Regions from separate parts of the Homo sapiens genome. Here region 2 is linked to region 1. Evidence: promoter capture Hi-C in 16 types of primary human blood cells and fetal thymus (Javierre and others, 2016). All regions are on one chromosome and are shown on one strand. Each heading gives the region's core, a stretch centred on a gene start or on the middle of the fragment in contact. The rest is flanking DNA. Distances are from core to core; before and after follow the strand shown.

The links. Contacts are between HindIII fragments. The CHiCAGO score rates a contact against its expected background, and 5 or more counts as called.
Region 2: a contact is called between a fragment that was not itself captured here and the fragment with the promoter of CDK18 in region 1, in 1 of 17 cell types (endothelial precursors). The highest score is 5.6, in endothelial precursors.

What each region holds. Positions count from the first base shown.
Region 1 is chr1:205,501,898-205,508,653 of GRCh38, reverse strand. CDK18 (cyclin dependent kinase 18) reads right to left here and starts at 3,985. Exons shown (of 16, transcript NM_212502.3): 1 at 3,858-3,985. RefSeq lists an enhancer at 1,408-2,061. The HindIII fragment of the contact is 14,965 bases long and covers 1-6,184 here.
Region 2 is chr1:205,377,310-205,384,065 of GRCh38, reverse strand. It overlaps LEMD1 (LEM domain containing 1), which reads left to right. Exons shown (of 6, transcript NM_001199050.2): 6 at 2,210-2,688. The coding sequence ends at 2,408. LEMD1-AS1 (LEMD1 antisense RNA 1) reads right to left here. Exons shown (of 4, transcript NR_038425.1): 2 at 4,741-5,012; 3 at 1,922-2,039. It overlaps LOC105371698 (a long non-coding RNA gene), which reads left to right and starts at 5,416. Exons shown (of 3, transcript XR_922462.2): 1 at 5,416-5,634; 2 at 5,757-5,785. The HindIII fragment of the contact is 1,231 bases long and covers 1,105-2,335 here.

The sequences.
Region 1 (6,756 bases), core at 2,736-5,235:
AGTCTGGTTTCGACCTCCTGGGCTCAAGCAATCCGCCCACCTCCCTTTTCAGTTTAAAACCAAACCTCACACTTGCCTCACTACCCCTCCTCCTCTGCAGATGTAGCTGTGGAGATTCTAGGAGCAGATGGGCTCTCTTTCAGACAGGAGGTCTGGCGGAGATGCGCCCACGGCTTTTCCTCTTCCAGACTTGCTGCTGAACCACTGGCCAGCTCCAGCCAGGCCCAGCTACCAGCTCTGTAGTGATCCTGGATCCCAGACCCTTGGCCTGAGCTGTTGTGAGCCCAGCCTGTGTGTGCATGTGCATGCAGCTGTGTGTGTGTAAGCAGCTGTGGGAGCCAGGACAAGATTAACCTTGGTCTGCTCCCACCCCCTGGATGTGGGAAAGTGCCCACTCAGCAGGGAATGCCTGGAGGGCAAAGGTGAAAAGTCCAGGGAAGGGGACGTAAGGGGTTATGGTGGGACACAGAGCCGAGGAAGAGAAATGTGACTTATTGCCAAAGGTGGGCTAATCAGGTGGGCCTGGAACCAGGCCAGCCACTCACCCTGAACAACAGAGCAGAACAGGGACTGCAATTAATTAAGTACCAGGGGAGGGTCCTCCTACCTCAGGGAAAGAAGGCGCTGCCAGAGGGCCCTCAGAGCAAGAGACTGCTGCCTCTCCAGCTCCCAGTGCCTGCCTCATTCATAACTGCCAGAAGGTAGGGCCCCCACAGCACAGATTCCTGGCCCCTCCTGGAAGATTTCCATCCAACCCATTCCCCTACCACCACCACCATTCTCTTACACAGAGCCCTCCTCCCTAACCTGGAAGAGCAGTAAAGATTCTGTCTAACTAAGGGCTTGGCCTGATGGGGCTGGGAAAATCTACCTTGGTCTCTAGACCAGCCCTGGTGCAATCACCAGGAAATTCCCTTTCCAAACAAGCACCACCAACCACTATAGCTACCAGTTATTTAGTCTCTGCTACATGCCAGGCACTGTGCATTATTTTTTTTTTTTTTTTTTTTTTTTTTTTTTGAGACGGAGTCTCGCTCTGTCGCCCAGGCTGGAGTACAGCGGTGCAATCTCGGCTCACTACAACCTCCGCCTCCCGGGTTCACGCCATTCTCCTGCCTCAGCCTCCCGAGTAGCTACAGGCACCTGCCACCACGCCTGACTAATTTTGTGCTTTTTTTTTTTTTTCAGTAGAGATGGGGTTTCACCATGTTAGCCAGGATGGTCTCGATCTCCTGACCTCGTGATCCGTCCACCTCGGCCTCCCAAAGTGCTGGGATTACAGGCGTGAGCCACCGCACCCAGCCTAAATCTTATAACAGCCCTCTATTATGATCCTCATTTTACAGATGAGGGAACGGATGCTGGGAGAAATTCACGAGTGTGCTAGTGAGGGGAAGGTCACATAGCTACTATATGCTGGAGCTGGATTCCACCAAGGCCAGAAGTTTGCCCTCCCCTTTAGTTCTCAAGCTCAGTTAGAGAAGAACAGAAGGAATCAGAGGACAGGTAGATGGAGATGCTGGACAAAAGTCCCAACAGGGTGATCCCAGAAAGTAGAGGCTTGGTTAGGGTAGGAACCGGGAAGAGTCAAGCCGGGCTCTGCCCTACAGTGTAGGACGCATTCCCGAGTGCGGGACGGCCCAAGTAGGCAGAGGACAGAGTCCGAGTCTGTAGAGGAAGCAAATGCACCCTGAAAGGCAGCTCCATGTCCTCTAGACCTGAGCGGGGGTTTGCAGGGCTGGCAACCTGATCCCACGAGATCTCAGACCAAGAACCTATTTGCTCCTCAGATCTGGTGCCCTCTCTCCTGTGCCCCATGGAGAAGCCTGGCTCTGCCTAGTGCAGGACAGACAGATGGGAGCCTCAATATTTGGAGCATCACCCCCATTCTTTCTTCTCCTGAGGACTGACGCAGACCAGAGAACTCCAGAGTGGGCCGGAACCTCCCCACAATGGGGCAGGGGTTAACAGCAGGGGCTTGGGGTCAGACGGAAGTGGGCTGGATCCCACCTCTGTGTGACCTTGGAAAAGTTGGTCTCTCAGAGACTCAGTTTCTTCACCTGTAAAATGGGGATGATAATAATACCTACTTCATAAAGTTGTGACGCACTGCTTGGCGCACAGTAGATATTCAACAAATGGTGGCCACTAAGGCTTGTCTACTCTGCCTCTGGCACCCCCGATAAGTTTGGGAAGAACTTCTTCTGGCACGCGTGGAGAGCTTCTTCCATTCTCCTGGCAGGGTATGGGGAGAGTCCTGGGGACCCAGTGGGGAGAGTCCTGGGAACCCAATGGTCAGGTACACCCCAGATTAAGGGTGGGGGAGGGGTCAGCCCCACAGCCTCCTCAGCTGCACAAGAGGTGGCTGGGAAAGGGTAACCCGAGATAGCAGCTTTGCTGTGGCAAGGTGACCCTCTCTCTGGAACGCCTTCAGGATGCAAACCCGGACCTGGAGCCAGTGTCGCCCTGTACTCCACCGACCCTCAGCACCCTCAGCACCGTTTTCCCAGGCCCCTCCCAAGGCCAGGCTAAAGGCAGGGGATCTCTGAGGACGTGCCAGTCCACCAGGCGCTCCAGGCATCCTCTCAGGCCCGTGTCCAGGAATGTGCTGCATGCCCATGCCCGGGTGGGGAATGCCACGCGAACATGCCGAAGCTCACTGGGTGCTGACACAGGAGGGGCAAGCCGGTGGTGTTAGTGAGTCACAGGGCCCAGGCTACAGCTGGGGAACTGCCGAGGGCTGGGCTAGGGGTGGGGAAGAAGGGGAGACAGTAGCAGATAGCGCGGAAGAGGTTCCAGGGCCTCTCACTCCCACAGTGTCAATCCTCCCACCCCGACTGCCGGGAGGTGCCCAGAGAGAATGAAGAGAGGCAGGGCTGGTGCCTAGGAGGGTGCTGACCCTGCAGCACAGAAAACCCCTCACTGTTTCTGCAGCCCAACTCCCACCCAGCACAAGGTCTGCAGACACCTTCAGGGAATCCCCGCCCCCCACAGGGCGAAAACAGAGGCCTCCAGTCCAGACCCGATTTTGGATTTCAGATTCCTGATGGTGTCCCTCAACTACAGCAGAATCCTCAAGGCACATCTCCTTAGCCCAACAGGTCACCGCCCACTCCCCCCGGCCCCACCCAGCCTCCTTTCCCTCTGCTGCATTAACCCTCTGTCGCCTGTTGATGAGGGGTGGAGGGGGGCACTGCCCCTTTGGTCTTCCGGGGTGGAAAGAGAGAAGCAGCAGCATTCCCCAGACCCCTGCCTCCCCCAGAACTGGGACCTGCAGGGCTTCACGTGTCCTTCCACGTTCTTCCCAGGGCTCCGGCCTCCCACCCCCTGCCTGCCGCTCTGGAAAGTTCACCAGAGCCCAGGAAGCCCTTCAAGGCAGCGATGTGGCCCCACACTCTCGGGTCCTTTGGTCCCTGGAGACTCCTGACCCTTGCCCTTCCCAGAATGAAGGGAGCTTAGAAAGCGCCTGGTTCCGGACTGGGTGGAAAACTTTGCTTTGTAGGGTTCAGACGGGAGCCCAGGGGCCAAAGTGATCCCAGATGGAGACTCCCTAAGGGGGCGCGGGGTCTGAGATTGCAAAATAACCCTCCCTCTCAAGCACCTGGAACTTACGAGTGGCCTTTCGAGGGCACCCCCCACCCCTCAACACACAACACAGTATCACACAGATCACGCCTCGTGATCTCTGCTCTCCCCTCGCCGCTCCGGTATTTCCCTCCAACCTCTCGCCTCAGGGCAAAAGCAAAACTGCGCCTTTAAGAGCCGTTCCGCTTACCTTTGCTCCTTATACCCGGCGCCGCGGTGCCCGCTCCTCCGACCTCCCCCTTCCTCCCAGGCGCACCGCCCGCGGGACTCACAGCGCGTGTCCTGGGGGCCGCGGTGCGCCCGCTCCCTCCCGGGCACGGGGCAGCTTCCCCTGCTCCGGAAAGGTGAGCAGTTCCCCAGAGAAGCTGCAACCTGAGCTGGCCGAGGAGGAGGTAGAAGGGGAGGGGAAGGGAGGGAGTGGAGGAAGGTGGGGAAGAGGAGGGAGGAGGAGGAGGAGGAGGAGGAGGAAGGAAAATGCCCGGCCCCCGCCAGAGTTTTTCACATGTACAAGTTGACTCCGCCCCCGGCCCTCCCGCCCTGCCCACAGCCGCTACCAATCCCCAGGGCTCCCTCTGCCCGGGTGCCCACCCCTTTCTCCCACTCTGGGAACCAGGGTCCAAGTGCCTCTTCCTGTTTCGTTTCTAAAACCGGCCCTGAGAGCCTTGGCTAGGGGATGAGGCCTTCTGGACTGGATCACCCCAGGACACCAAGGCGCCAGGGGTACACTGAGAGTGCCTGCCTGTCTCTAAAAGCGGTGCTCCTACCTCTCCTAGGTACCTCCCTGTACCTGGCGCCCTAGGAACGAATGTGCATGGACAGATTTTGGTGGTCATTTTCTTGACAATAGTAGCCCTCGGGCTCCCCTTCTACCCTATCCAGTGGGACTTGTCACTTACCTTTCCGGACAAAGTTCCCACCTCTCCAGGACCTGAATGAAGCCCTTGTTACCAGCCATCATTCACATTTCCCTCCCCGAAGGATAATTCAACTTGTCCTTTTGGAATTAAACTCCACAGGATATTTGAGAATCATCCAAGAAGGGTTACAGAATGGCTAGTTCAGCTAGTGGCACTCTCATTTTACAGAAGGGGAAACTGAGGCCCAGCAAAGCAATTGAACTGGCCTAAAGTGCCACAAGAGTTCATGGCGAGCCATGATTAGAACTCAGGCCAATGGCCATTGCACCCACATCATCTGACTTCAAGGATCAAAAAAAAAAACAAAACAAAAATCTGGGGATGGGGGTGAAGGGCACAGTGCCCCACCGCCAGGCCCCTCTCATCTCTGCTTCCTCCTGAGGGCTGTGAGGAGAGGAGGTGTGCCTTGGCTCTATGGCACCTCATCAAGGCAGTCTGTGTCCCCTGCCCTACCAGAGGGCTTGGCTGCTGCAGTCTGGGGTCTCCCACAGGGAAAGTCTCCTTAGGAGGGGGTGCTCCACAGTGTACATGTGCTTCTACCTGAACCCTTTCCCTGGGGACTGTGAGTTGTTGAGAATAGAACAGTTTCCTTCTGGAAGACATGGGCCTGAGGTCCCACTGTCAGCTGGAGACAGGAGAATGAAGGAAGACACTGGGCCCATGCATGAAAGTGACCTGTGGGTAGTTGACATCTCACAGAGGGCCTCCCAACTCTTTTTTTTTTTTTTACCTCGCTTTCTCTGCCAAGGCATGCAGATTTCCTGGGCACAGCACTTCCTAAAAATGAAACTGCCAAGTGTTGTCGGGGTGCATGGATCCAGAGCCTTTAGGTGTGCAGCAACCTCCTGGCTCTGTAGTCCAGTGGATGGTGAGAAGCCTGGGGAGCAGGAGGCCATAAAGAGGTTTGGAAGGGGCAGGGAGGGAAAGGGAGAAGGACTATGGCCAAGGAACTGTTTACTGGCGGATTAGAGAGAGTGGGGCCAAAGGGTAGAATTTCAAGGAACTAGGGGGGTGAAGTCAAGAGGTCTCCACAAACACTTTCTCAACATCTCTTATGTGCCAAATGATAGCCAGGGCTCTGGGCACATAAGATGAGTATAACCCAGTCCCTGCCTTCAAGAAGCTCTTGGTGTAATGCGGCAGGGAAGCAAACAGTTAGGATGCTATAGGAGGAGGCTTAGTGTTACGGATGCCTGGGAGGAGCTATTCTGCTTGAGGTGAGGGTTACAGGATGAGGGGACAAGAGAGAGGAGGAAGGATTTTCCCTGTTTTTTCCAGGAGGGGTAATCCCTTGTGCAGAGTGCAGGGGTGACAGAATATGGACCCACAGTTCCATGAGGTCAGAACTTAAAGTCTGGGGTGGAGGTGACACTGTAGAGGCAGGCAGGTGCTGGGTCCTGAAGACCCCCAACGTGGAGGCTGATCCTAGTGGAAAATGAGAATGAGCTTAGACCACACAGCGGCAGCAGGGAGGAGAGGAGGGAACTGATTTGAGAGATAGGTAGGAGACAGGGTCATGGAGCCTTGTGACTATTGGATTCTAGAAGATAAGGGAGCCAACAGTGTCAAGATTAGAAGCACTGATGTGATAGGCTGAGTGGGACCTTGGAGCTTCTTAAGTGAGCCTTGATTCCCAGCACCTCCTTAGATTGCTCTGTGAACTTGGGCAAGCGAACTAAGCTTTCTGAGGCCATCTGTAGAACAAAGTTGCTAAAATCAATCTTGTATGGTTGTTGTACATATTAGGGTAATGTATGCTAAGGGCCTGGCATAGGACTTGGCTCATAATGGAGAACTCAATAGATAGTAAATATAATTACCATCATTCATGCATTCAACAAACATTTATTGAACACCTGCTATGTGACAAGGACTATACTGGATCCTTGCATTGGATAGATGATTTTAAGTCTCAGTTCCTATTCTCATGTAGTTCACTGTTCAGGTGGAGAAAGATATGCAGAGGCAGTCACCTACCAAGGCAATATGGGCTGAGCAGAGGAAGAAGCCCTTAACTCTGCCCAAGAGAATTTGGGACAGCTCCACAGAGGAGAGATGACAGCTGAAATGATGTAGGGCCAGCCACCTGCTCAGAGCCTGTCACATCACCCCCTGCCCCACCACCACCACATGGGATTGCTTCAGAATCTCTGAAAGCTTCAGTTTTGAAGCATCGTCTTGGTTCTCAGGGTTGAAGGAAGAGGATGAACTGCAGGTGGGCATCTATATGGAGCCCAGAGAATGGCACAACAAG
Region 2 (6,756 bases), core at 471-2,970, 120 kb after region 1:
AAAAGTCGCAGTGGACTGAGATCACAGCCCAAGTCTCCTGATGTGTAGCCATTTGGAAACATTTCTTTCTATTTGTGCCTTGGAAGGTGGGCAAGAGGCAAAAAAAAAAAAAAAAATGTAAAGGATATAAGGCCGGGTGCGGTGGCTCTTGCCTGTAATCCCAGCACTTTGGGAGGCTGAGGCAGATGGATTGCCTGAGGTCAGGAGTTCGAGACCAGTCTGGCCAACATGGTGAAACCCCATCTCTACTAAAAACACAAAAAAATTAGCCAGACGTGGTGGCATGCGCCTGTAATCCCAGCTACTCGGGAGGCTGAGGCAGGGGAATTGCTTGAACCAGGGAGGCGGAGCTTGCTGTGAGCCGAGATCATGCCACTGCACTCCAGCCTGGGTGACAGAGCGAGACTCTGCCTCAAAAAAAAAAAAGAAAAAAGAAAAAAAAAAAAGGATATAAATACACAGTTAAATAGGATAAATAAGACCTAGGGTTCAATAGGTCAGAAGAGTGGCTTTAGTTAACAATAACCTATTGAACACTTCAAAATAGCTAGAAGAGAATAATTTAAACATTCCTAGCATAAAGAGAAGATAAATATTTAAGGTGGTGGATATCCTAATTACCCTGATTTGATCTTTACACATTATATGAAGGTATCAGAATAGCACATGTTGGCTGGGCACAGTGGCTCATGCCTGTAATCCCAGCATTTTGGGAGGCTGAGGTAGGAGGATCACTTGAGGCCAGGAGTTTGAGATCAGCTTAAGCAAAATAGTGAGATCCTGTCTCTACAGAAAAATTTAAAAATTAGCCAGGCATGGTGGTATGTGCCTACAGTCCCAGTTACCTGGGAGGCTGACGCAGAAGGATTAGTTGAGCCCAGGAGTTCAAGGCTGCAATGCAGTGAGCTATGATCACGCCACTGCATTCCAGCCTGGGCAACAGAGTGAGACCCTGTCTCAAAAAAATATGTATGTAATATAAAATTACATATACCCTCAAATATGTAAATCTATTATGTATCAATTTTTAAAAACGAATAAAAAGAGTAAGTAGTTCAAATAAAAGCTCAAGACAGGCAATTGTATTAGTCAGAAAGTAAAGCTTTCTGGAGAGTTTCCTAACTTCTGAATAAACTTCAGCAGGTTTTGCAGAATTAGGCTAGTGGAAACATAAGGCTCTTGCAAAAAAATTTCAGAAAGTACTCTTGCCTTTTTAAGTGCAAAATAAGCAGATTGCAAAGGCGCTTTTCCTCTCCACCCTGAAAGGTGGTGTTTGTACTTGAGAAGGGAGGAAGGAGGGGGCCTGAGTACTGAGGCTTCCCATCCACTTATACAATTTCCCAGCGAGGACTTGGGGATCTGCAAGGCCTGTGCCAAGTCAGGCTTTATGCCGGCATTGAGAAGTGATACACAAGTGGGTGGAAACAATGAAGAAATGTTTTGTGGGATTTGAGAGACCTCATATCCCCCAATACGCTGTTAGTATCACTTGTTGAAATTAGAGACTGGGCACAGTGGCTCACGCCTGTAATCCCAGCACTTTGGGAGGCTGAGGTGGGAGGATCCCTTGAGCCCAGGAGTTTGAGACCAGCCTGGGCAACATGGTGAGCCCTCGTCTCTACAAAAAAATTTATTTTTTAATTTTTTTGGAGACAGGGTCTCATTCTGCCACCCAGGCTGGAGTGCAGTGGCACAATCATAGTACACTGCAGCCTCAAACTCCTCGGCTCAACTGATTCTCCCATCTCAGCCTCCATGCCCAGCTAATTTTTATATTTTTTGTAGAGACAGGGTTTCGAACTCCTGGGCTCAAGCAGTCTGCCTGCCTTGGCCTCCCAAAGTGCTGGAATTACAGGTGTGAACCACCACACCTGGCCTACGAAATTTTTTTTTTTAATTAGCTGGGGGTGGTGGCATGTACCTGTGGTCCGAGCTACTCGAGAGGCAGACGTGGGAGGATGTCTTGAGCCCAGGAGGTTAAGGCTGCAGTGAGCTGTGATTGTACCACTGCACTCCAGCCTGGACAACAGAACAAGATCCTGTCTTAAAAGAAAAAAAAAGAAATTAGCCTAGGTTTTTAGTAAGGAGAGGCTACCTCTAAAGCCCCACCATGACTGCACCCTTGGGCTTCAAGACCCACACACTTTAAGGGGCTACTCAAGTGCACCACAGCTGTCCACAATCCTAAGAGCCACTGATGTTTTCACAGGTGGGCTGCAAGAGCACCAAGCACCAGAATCACATATGGGACTATCACCAAAGAGAGAGACTACTGCGCGGAAGACCAGACTATCGAGAGCTGGAGAGAAGAAGGTTTCCCAGTGGGCTTGAAGCTTGCTGTGCTTGGTATTTTCATCATTGTGGTGTTTGTCTACCTGACTGTGGAAAATAAGTCGCTGTTTGGTTAAGTAATTTAGGAGCAAAGCAATGCTCCAAGCGAGGCCTCCTGCTTCAGGAAAGAACCAAAACACTACCCTGAAGGGCCAGCCTAGCCTGCAGCCCTCCCTTGCAGGGAGCCTTCCCTTGCACTGTGCTGCTCTCACAGATCGGTGTCTGGGCTCAGCCAGGTGGAAGGAACCTGCCTAACCAGGCACCTGTGTTAAGAGCATGATGGTTAGGAAATCCCCCAAGTCATGTCAACTCTCATTAAAGGTGCTTCCATATTTGAGCAGGCGTCAAACAAGGAAACTGTCTGGCGTTTTTCTTTCTAAGTATGGTGACAAGCCATAGGTCGCATTTTATTCACTCCTCCAATTGTATAGCCAATTCTGGGAAACAGCTAATTTACAGCAGAAGAATGTGTCTAGTTTAGTAAACACAAAGAAATGTCCAACACCATGAAAACAATTTAGAACAGGATAGCATTTTTGCCTTTGAAACTTAGCAAGGTTCTAAAAAATTACCATCTGACAAAGGAATGTAATAACCATGGCCTCAGGGACCAGGCAGAGCTGTGTAGGCACCCGGCTCCTCTCTTTATCGGCCCTGTGACCTTGGGTGAGTTAGTTGTCCTCCTGGAGTTTCAATTTCAGCTTTCAAAAATAGGGGTAGAATAGGCCTCTTAGGGTGATGAAGAATTTGAGGAAATAATGTGAGTAGTGGACTTAGTGTGGTCCACACCTGACTTGTAGCAAGCACTCAATAAATGCTTAAGCAATGTTACACTTTGGCACAATATGGGAGGAGCTAATTCTAGGTACAAAAAAGCACCAAAGGCTGGGCATGGTGGCTCACGCCTGTAATCCCAGCACTTTGGGAGGCCGAAGTGGGTGGATCACTTGAGGTCGGGAGTTCAAGACCAGCCTGGCCAACATGGCGAAACCTTGTCTCTACTAAAAATACAAAAAATTAGCCGGGTGTGGTGGCGCATGCCTGTAGTCCCAGCTACTCGGGAGGCTGAGTCAGGAGAATCACTTGAACCCAGGAGGCAGAGGTTGCAGTAAGCAGAGATCGTGCCACTGCACTTCAGCCTGGGCAACAGCCCGGGCTCATGATCCACCTGCCTCGGCCTCCCAAAGTGCTGGGATTACAGGCATGAGCCACCATGCCCAGCCTGAAAATGCTTATTTAAAAATTTTTTTAAAAAATAGCTTTATTGTGGAAGGCTGAGATAGGGGAATTGCTTGAGTCCAGGAGTTCAAGGCTGCAGTGAGTTGTGATCACACTACTTCACTCCAGCCTGGGCCCTATCTCTTAAAATATATATATGTAGAGAGAGAGATAAATAATTTATATGCCATATAATTCACCTACTGAGGGTTACAGTTCAATGATTTTTAGTATATTCATAGGGTTATGCAATCATTCCCGCAATAAATTTTAGAATATTTTCATCATTCCAAAAAGAAATTCTTAAGGTGCTCATTTTAATGGTAAACAAAAAAGGACACAAATTTGTTGTACCATATTATCACAACTGCACAACACTGGAAGAAAATATGTCAAAATGTTAAGAGTACTTCGGTGACTGGAGCTCTAATTTTTCCCCCTATTTCTACTTTTTAAATATTTTTAAAGATTTCTGTAAGTAGTGTGTATCAGTTTGCTAATGAGAGAATATAAATATTAATTTTTAAAAATTGCATTCTGTCTGGATGTGGTGGCTCATGCTTGTAATCCCAGCACTTTGGGAGGCTGAGGTGGGAGGATCGCTTGAGGCCAGGGGTTTGAGACCAGCCTGGACAACATAGCAAGATCCTGCCTATAAAACAAAAAAAGAAGAAGAAATTTTTGAAAAACTGCATACTGTATTACAGTTTGAATGCAAGGATCATAAAACTCTAGTAAGACTGGCTTAAACAGAGATTTATTTTTATCTCATAAAAAGAAGTCTAGGGCCAGGCGCTGTGGCTCAACCCTGTAATTCCAGCACTTTGGGAGGCCTAGGTGGGAGGATCACCTGAGGTTGGAAGTTCAAGACCAGCCTGACCAACATGGACAAACCGTGTCTCTACTAAAAATACAAAATTAGCCAGGCGTGGTGGCACATGCCTGTAATCCCAGCTACTCGGGAGGCTGAGGCAGGAGAATCACTTGAACCCGAGAGGTGGAGGTTGCGGTGAGCCAAGATCATGCCATTGCACTACAGCCTGAGTTTTTTGAAACTCCGTCTCAAAAACAAAAAAAAGTCTAGAGTTTAAGATGTCCAATATTGTTTAAAATGACCAAAAATGTAATATAATTCTGATTCAAACAAACCAGCTGCAGAAAAAATTATGATCAAGGAGATGCGAAACTGACCCGATTCTTGGTGGTATTCAGAGAGGTTTGGTCTGACTGAGCTGCAGCAGCTGTCCGACTCCCAGGGGAAAAAGCGAAAGGCTGAGAGAATCCCAGACACTGGCCTGACACGTTGGAACTGCCGAAATTCCATGAAGGATCCAGATAATGGCCATCACATCATCATTTAAGGCAGGACGTAAGGACTAACCATGTCTCTTCTCCAGCTCTACATATTTCATCCTGAGCAGCAAGGGAGGCTGAGAAAGTGGGCGCTGGAGCCTTGGCAGCCTCTGTGTTAGAAGAGGGAGAAGAGGATTGGTCATAGGAGTAAGCAGAGCCAACCTACAGTGGTGGCCACATGCACTTAAAAAAGAAAACTTCTGTTGTGTTGTTTGGTTTGTTTGTTTTGAGACAGGGTCTCACTCTATTACCCAGGCTGGAGTGTGGTGGATCACCGCAACCTCCACCTCCCGGGCTCAAGTGAACCTCCCACCTCAGCCTCCCGAGTAGCTGGGACTACAGGCATGTGCCACCATATCTGGCTAATTTTTTTTGTATTTTTTATAGAGATGGGGTTTCACCGTGTTGCCCAGGCTGGTTCCGAACTCCTGGGCTCATGTGATCCTCCCAAAGTGCTGGGTTTACAGGCGTGAGCCACTGCGCTCCACCAATACTTCCGTTCTTAATAAAACCAAACATGATAAAAAATAAAACTTCTAGAAAGTTTCCTCCATTATTTTCAACTTTTCCCAGTTCTTTTATGTTAGAATTCTGGAATCAGTTTAAAGAGACTGCACAGACAATTACTTTTGTGTCTGACCATTCAAGGTGTGAGTTCCCAACCAGCAGTATCAGCATCTCAGGCTCCGTCCCAACTACTGAGCCAGAATCTGCATTTCAACAGGATCCCAGGTGATTCCTACCCAAATTAAAGTTTGGGAAGCATTGTGGTGGCCCATCCCTATCAGATGCTGTGATATAGTGATATAATAAAAAATTTATATTTTGTCTCTGCCCCGGTTCCTGGCACACAGTTCCTAAAACTGTTGGAATCTCCTGAATGGTAAGTGTCTTTTTTATGCTATTTGACATGACTGGTGGCTGGCGGCCACTAGATAGCTTCAGGATGGGGACAGGTCACCAGAAAGATCAAGGCAGGATTCTAGGGTTAGAACTTTCAGTCCCATCCCCCCAAACTCCAGGAAAGGGAGATGAACTGAAGGTTAAGTCAATCATCAATGGCCAGTGATTTAATCAATCTTGCCTCCATAATGAAGCCGCTATAAAAACCCAGAAGGAGTGGGTTCAGAAGCAGGTTCTGGGTAGCTGAACCTGTGGAGATGCCTGGAGGGTGGAGTGCTAGAAACAGCGCGGAGCTCCGTGCCCCTTCCCACATGCTTCACCCTGTGCATCTCTTCCATCTGAATGCTCATCTGCACCCTTTATTATTAAACCAATACATGTAAGGGAAGTGTTTCCCTTAGTTTTGTGAACCACCCTGGGAAATTAATCTAACCCAAGGAGAGGGTCCTAGGAACCTTGATTTATAGTCGGTTGTTCAGAAGCACAGGTCACAATGTAGGGTTCTTAACTGGCATTGGAAGTGGGGGGCAGTCTTCTGAGACTGAGCCCCGAACCTGTGGGATCTGATGCTGTGCCTAGGCAGACAGTGTTGGAATTGAATTAAATTATAGGGCATCCAGTTGGTGTCTGATGGAGAATTTGGTGCCAGAATTGCTTGGTGTGTGGGGAAAAAACCCACACATCTGGTGTCAGAACTGTTGTGGTGGGTGGGAGTAGAAAAAAACACTTTGGTTGGCCAGGCATGGTGGCTTACACCTATAATCCCAACACTCTGGGAGGCTGAGGCGGGCAGATCGCTTGAGCTGAGGAGTTTGAGACCAGCCTAAGCAACATAGCAAAACCCTGTCTCTACAAAAAATACAAAAATTATCCATGTATGGTGGTGCATGCCTGTAGCCTCAGCTACTTGGGTGACTGAGGTGGGAGGATCGTTGAACCCTGGAGGTCGAG